Linked DNA regions of Homo sapiens: region 1 is linked to region 2. The links are contacts of gene promoters, found by promoter capture Hi-C in human tissues and cell types (Jung and others, 2019). All regions are on one chromosome and are shown on one strand. The core of a region is centred on a gene start or on the middle of the fragment in contact, and the rest is flanking DNA. Distances in the headings are between cores, read along the strand shown.

What was found. The method cuts DNA at HindIII sites, captures the fragments that hold promoters and counts their contacts. A contact is called where the count stands out against the background at its distance.
Region 1: a contact is called between the fragment with the promoter of RNASE2 here and a fragment that was not itself captured in region 2, in 1 of the 25 tissues and cell types used here (adrenal gland).

The regions. Positions count from the first base shown.
Region 1 is chr14:20,953,622-20,957,017 of GRCh38, reverse strand. It overlaps RNASE2 (ribonuclease A family member 2), which reads right to left and starts at 1,531. Exons shown (of 2, transcript NM_002934.3): 1 at 1,482-1,531; 2 at 582-1,251. The coding sequence starts at 1,246. The coding sequence ends at 761. The HindIII fragment of the contact is 15,094 bases long and covers 1-3,396 here.
Region 2 is chr14:20,655,551-20,658,718 of GRCh38, reverse strand. TRY-GTA4-1 (tRNA-Tyr (anticodon GTA) 4-1) reads left to right here and starts at 1,162; the gene lies at 1,162-1,255. It overlaps LOC124903281 (a long non-coding RNA gene), which reads right to left. Exons shown (of 2, transcript XR_007064059.1): 2 at 1-1,014. The HindIII fragment of the contact is 3,874 bases long and covers 1-3,168 here.

The DNA.
Region 1 (3,396 bases), core at 282-2,781, 300 kb before region 2:
TGGAGACCAGCCTGGCCAACATCTTGAAACCCCCTCTCTAAAAATTACAAAAATTGGCTGGGTATGATGGTGCATAACTGTAATCCCAGCTACTCGGGAGGCGGAGGAAGGAGAATAGCTTGAACCTGGGAGGTGGAGTTTGCAGTGAGCTGAGATCTCGCCACGCACTCCAGTCTGGGCGACAGAGCGGGACTCTGTCTCAAAAAATAAAATAAATAAAATAAAATAAAATAAAATAAAATAAAATAAAATAAAATAAAAAATAAATACAAATGACTCTACAAGGAAGGACTAGGAAGCCCAACAGGATGACCTAGTTGTGAAGAGGGTTTAGAGGAGATGACTAAAGCTTGATCAAAGCAAGAGTCTTCGACAGTTGCTAGATATCGGTTGAGACCTCAGCTTCTCAGCCTAAAGCAGGGAGAGGGATAAGACTGTGCTGTTTCATGACAGAAAGCGTCTCTTATCTTCAAATCTCTCTGTTTCCCGGAAGTCTCAGGTTAGAGGAAGAAAAATCTCTAGAGTAGATTGTCACTAAATGACAGCAGAGCGGCTAATGAAGACACACAGACACTTTCAGATGAATTTGCAAAGCAGTTTATTGCAGGGTTCACAAGGCACTTCAGCTCAGGAAAGCTGAAGGGGTATGGAGACTGATGAGGACAGATGCTGATACCCAAAGTATATGGAGAGATGGGATCTTGGCTATGATTGAGGAGCTTGGCAGATGAGTGATGATGAGGAGTGCTGATACAGGAGCTTAGATGATTCTATCCAGGTGAACTGGAACCACCGGATACTGTGGAGGGTCTCGTCGTTGATCTCTGTTGTCACATGCAACTATATAGAACATGTTTGCTGGTGTCTGCGCATACCTGCAGTTTGAAATATTCTGTGGACTTGGAGTTGTGAGGTTACAGTGGATTAAAGGCACCTGGCTTCCACTGTGGTGACAATTTTTGCGAGTTTTGTTACTAGGACAGGTCATATTTGGGTTACCACAAACATTAACTACGTTAGCAAAAGTTGTAAGAAGGAAAGTATTTTGGTTTTTGCATCGCCGTTGATAATTGTTAATGACCTGCATTGCATTGGTGCATTGCTGGGAGGTCATATTGATGTGCTGGGTTTCAAACCATTGAGCCCAGGTAAACTGTGGAGGTTTGACATGGAGTGAGCCCTCCACAGCCAGAAGCCCCAACAGAAGAAGCAGACAAATTTGGGAAGTGAACAGTTTTGGAACCATGTTTCCTGTAAGAAAAGAAGAGAAGTAACTACTCCCTGATCGGGTCTTGGTTATGACACACACTGTAGTGTCTTACCCCACAGGCCCCTCTGCGGCCACTCTGGGGTCCCATTTCCTTTACTTCCTGTCTGCAAAGTGTGCAACGTCTCCTAAGCACTAACGTCAGCTCTCTTCTCCCTCAGTTGCTGCCCCATTGCTGCCCCTTCTGTCCCAGCTCTGGGGATCGTTGACTTACCCAGTCTCCGCGCTGTAGCTCCTGTGAGAACTGATCCAGCTGGTTGTTCTGGGGTTCAGGGGCAGCTGGTCTCCCCTACTTGGAACTGTTTAAATAAAGCATCCCTTGGTGGGTTGGGCCAGCAGAGCCCAGAGGGAGGGTCTGGCTCTTGGCCATGCAGAAACCCACAGATTGGTACATAGTCCACTTGTGCAATCATCCTTTTTATTTGATGACTTGGCTGAGCAACGGATACCCAAGGACAGCCCTGCTGCTCTTTCTGCTATAAGGACTCTAATTCCAAGTCATCCTGTGTAAGACAGAGTTTTGCTGGTTAGATCCAAACTCTGGATGAAAACTATATGCTGCCTGCAGAATGACCACAGATTTTATAACTGTCCTCTGGCAGGCCACTAAATGACCAAAGTACATGAAGGCAGGCATAGTAGTTAGAACAAATAGAGCCACTGAGGGCTGTTTGCCCAGGAGAAACCCAGCTTCCCTTTCATTTTTAGTAATATCCTTGGTTCTCTCTCACACAAATGCTCTCCATCTCATCCACCACTCTTGCTGGAAACTTGAGCTATTAATTTCTTAGGGCACAAGATTCTGTAGATAATTAAAACAATCTGCTACACATACTTGAGGGATTTTTTTCTTTACTCCTCTTGCATTGGATCCACTTTCTCTTAAGTCTTGCCCTGATTATTGCTTCCACTTTGTGTAAAGTTACACAACCTAAAAACACACCGAGGACAGTTGTAAAGTCTGGCAGAGAATGAATGAACATTTGGTGTCATGAAAGATTCCAACCTAGCACTCGGTATTCCTGTGATCTTTTCAGCCTATGGTATTTTCTACAAAACACTGTGTTCTGGGGTTGTCATTCATCTTCCTGGTAAGTTTCATTTTGTGATATTAACAAGAAAATGGTTCTGTATTTACAAATGAACATTTAAGGACAGAGCACTGTATTCCTGAAAGTATAGAGGTCAAGTGTACAGTTTGATACACAAAGCATACATTTATTCTTGGCCCTCAGAGACATACAGGAAAGTAATTGTAGACACATAATTGTATTACACTTGTGTGAACATGGTTTCATGGGGACGCCGAGGGTGAAGGAAATCACTTGGCTTGAGGGACAAGGAAGACTTCAAAAAAAAAAGTTTGATTTCAGCAGGGCCCTAAAAGATAAGCAGGGAGTTTTCAGGGACTTTAGGGAAGAGATGAGCATTCTGGGCACAGGGGATGATGTGGGGAAATTGTACAGAGGTGGGAAGTGAATTGCAGTGGTAAGACCTGAGTACTAAGAGATGTTAAATCTGGTCTAGCTTTCAGATTAGAAAATTGATATTAGACCCTTAAATGATATAATATACCTTCCAACAGTTAATCTACATAATTTTTACTACCATCCAATTTTCCTGTCATTTAGAAATGCAATAATTTTATCACTGGGGTCCTTAGGTAAATGTGGACACAATGGTGACCCAGTGAGGACTCAATGCGCAGCTAATATTGCTCTGCCTTGAAGTCCTCTTCTGGCCGACATTCATTAGCAGCTTTATCATGAAGCAAATTCTTTTTTCATGTATATTGTGTGGAGATCATTTTTGCAGGTGATGAGAATGTAAAGGTGAATGATACGTAGAGTATCCGCTCTGTGATGCTGACAGACACACTGGGTAGAAAGACTTGCACTCAAGTGTCTATAGTATGAGGCAAAAGACATAGACTGCAGCCCCAGGGCAGGTACCTGGCTAAACAGTGCCTCTTTTCAGCATATACAGTGCTATTTATAATGTTTGGTTTGGAAGGTAAAGTTTGACATTGGAATAGTTCACTAAAAGTTTTCATTACTGTCTTATCTTTAAAAATCACATGATGTTGGTTGGTGCACTGTGTCTCCGTTGCTGTGTGGTATCAATTAGAG
Region 2 (3,168 bases), core at 244-2,743:
GATATATTCCTGATGGGGCGTGGAGTCACCAGAGCCCTTGGAACCTTTGCTCAGTGCTTTGGGGAAAAACCAGAGGTGAGCCAACAAATGGGTTTGGTGGCTGGCACAAGTGAAGGTGAGCCCAGGTGCCCACTCTTCCCAGCTGTGCCATGGCAGAGAGTAGCAGGATGTCTGTGAGGATCTGATCCTCACTCTCGGAGATCCACACCCACTTGCCATAAGACAGGAAGTGGACATAAACTCAATGGAGGCTAGGTCCCGTGGGTGTGGCTTCCTGTCCTCCTCTAGGTGTTCTGCTGCAGAGAGGGTGCCTCAGTGGTCTCGGAGTGGTGGGCACACACCAGATGGGATCTGAAACTTTTGTCAAAGATGTGGGTTCAGGATAAGGAGTCCAAAGCTCACACTTCTGTCCTCTACCTGGCTTCTTGTTTTTCAAAGAAACCCACAGAACTTTGCCCTACTTCAGAAATCAGCAGCTTCTGATTGGAATTCTCAGCCTGTTTGCAGAAGAGGGTATCTCACATGTGCCTCTGCAAGCCTGGGAGAGATTTCCTCACCTCACTTCCCAGTGCACCTCAATGCACCAAAATGTGAGCATAGACTACTATGAGGAGAAGGGCGGGGCACCTGGGGAGGAGGGCCCTGTGTGTGTGGTAGGGGAGGGAGTAGAGAGGCCAGACTATTATGGAAGCGCCCATTAGAGACCTGCACCAGACTCTGAGGTTGGGTTGGAGTTGTCAGCTGCCTATCCAGCGCCCATTAGGGTTCTCCTCTTTTCCTCCTCCAGCGTTCTCTCCCCGACTAGACCCACCCAACCACCTCGCCAATCCCTGTGCCCTCGCTGACTCACCTTCTCATTTTCTCTCAGGCCACTGGGGGCTGTCATCCTCACCTGTAGAAAGGTGGATGCTCAGGGAGAGGAAGGCTGTCACAGATGAGAGCTCCTCCTCGTGGATGGTGGCTATCAGAGCCCGAGAGACACCAGGCATCCTCGCCCAGAGGATTTGCTCCGCCCTGAAAGGGGTGTGGTGTCAAGCGGCGCAGGGTTCTCTTCCAAGGTGGGTGCCAACCAACCCAACGCGTATTGGACCTCAAGCATTCCAGGGATGTGGCTCCCTCTGTTTGCAGAAAGTCCAATGAACCAGCTTTGATAGCATGCATCCTTCGATAGCTCAGCTGGTAGAGCGGAGGACTGTAGATTGTATAGACATTTGCGGACATCCTTAGGTCGCTGGTTCGATTCCAGCTCGAAGGAAGTGCGTGATGCTTTTGGTTAAAAGCCCTGCAGCTTCCAAGTAGTAACCACACTCTCCCGGGCAAAACACCCACGAAGTCTTTCCTGATCACCTAGCTTCCCACGCCTTGCTTCTACTTTGTGACCCCACTAATCCCTCTATTCATGCTGACCACTACTTCCCCACCCTGTGCTCCTTCGCTTTTCTTCACAGACTGCTCTCGAGCTTGAGCATCTCCACTGGCTGTGACAAAACCGCTGTGCTCACCTTTGACAGAGCTCTCCTGACCAGGTGGGCAAAGCCTGGAAGGTCAAGTTCCCTGGAGAACGTCAAGCTTACTTGACAAGGGTGTAAAGTGGGGATAACCGTGGTATCTTCCGTGAAAACTCACCCTCTCACTCTCATCCATCTCAGGCTCTTTATCACTGCATTGAGATCTGACAGTCTCATGTTTGTCTCTGTCTCATTCTCTTTCTCTCTTTCACCGTTTCTCTGTCTCTGTATATTTCTCTTTGTCTCTGTGTCTCTGCCTCCCTATCTCTCTTCCCTGAGCCCTCAGCCTGCCCCTCTCATTCTCCTTGGCTGGAAATGTATAGACCTATACAGGCGTAAAGAAAATGTTCATTCCCACTTTGCTGTGTCTACTTTGGGGAGACAGCTGTCACCCTGAGAATTTCCTAATCCTAAGAACTTCCATTAGCAAGGTCAGGTTGCCCTTTAGGTTGAGGACAAGGTGAGTCTATCCCCTATCCCCATAGCTTTTCCCAAATCCCTCAAGCCTCACTTTTTCTGAGCCTTCACAACTTTTCATGCTGCTACAGCGGAGTTTGGCCCCTGCTAGAAAAGAAAGGACCTAATATTCAGTTCAAAGCCAGCAAAAACACCTGTGTTGAGTGCCCTGCTACTTGAGAGGGTAAGGGAGATGGAAGGGGAGTACAAAAGTGCAGGCTGGAAAAGAGCTTCAGTGATCCTGGAGAGTTAGAGGCTGTTGGGTCCATGGCAGGGAGCAGAAGTAAAGCTTGAGTGACAGCTGTCATTATACAGAGGCACACGAATTCGCTGCCTTAGGCCACTGCCTGGTGGGTCTGAGCAGTTTGGAGCTTTGGGACTAGAGGCACAGTTGGACTCTACCCTCACCCCAAAGGAAAAAGTGCTGAGGCCTAATCAGAGAGAATGAAGTAGGAAATGGACTTAGGTTTTCTCCAACGAACAGGGGTTACACCTCCAGGGAGATGGAGTGGGTTCTGTGGGTATGGGGCAGAGAAGAAAGCCAACAAGCGTTCCTTGGTCTCATCTCACCATCTCAGAAAAAATCTCCAGAGATTTGATGCGCACATGCAACCTATCACAGAGAGCACTCCAAGCCAAATGGCCCATGGGAACGTGGCCCTCTGAAACCCTCTGGGGACTGGGACACCTGCCTCCACTACCTGCTGTGGCCACAAGAGCTGTTTCATTGCAGGTCTCAAACTGAAGACTACACAGGTCTTTCTTGGGAAGCAGCTCCTGATCTCCCTCCACCTCCCTATTTCCCCCAATGTTCCCCTGGCTTTGTCAGCCTTTCCTGCTTCTCATTGCTAACAGAAGGAGGCCAAGCTGTGGCATCGCCAGTGCCCAGGATGATTCTATGGCTTTGGAGCCACAGAGAGATCCCTGCCTCCAATGACACCAAAGGCAGAGGCTAGCGAACACAGACGAAATGTAGTACCTTTGTCCCTTATTGGATAAGTTCATGATGGGATATAGAGACCCCCAGGTTCTTCGGAACCTCTGTTTAGTGTTTTGGTGGGAAAATCAGAGGTGAGCCAGTGAATGGGCTTTGGTGGCCAGCACAAGCAAGGTTGAAACCTGGGTACCAACTCTTCCTGTTTGAGCCATGACAGAGTAGCTGGGTTCTGTGAGCATCTGACCCTTGCCCTCAGAGATCCAGACC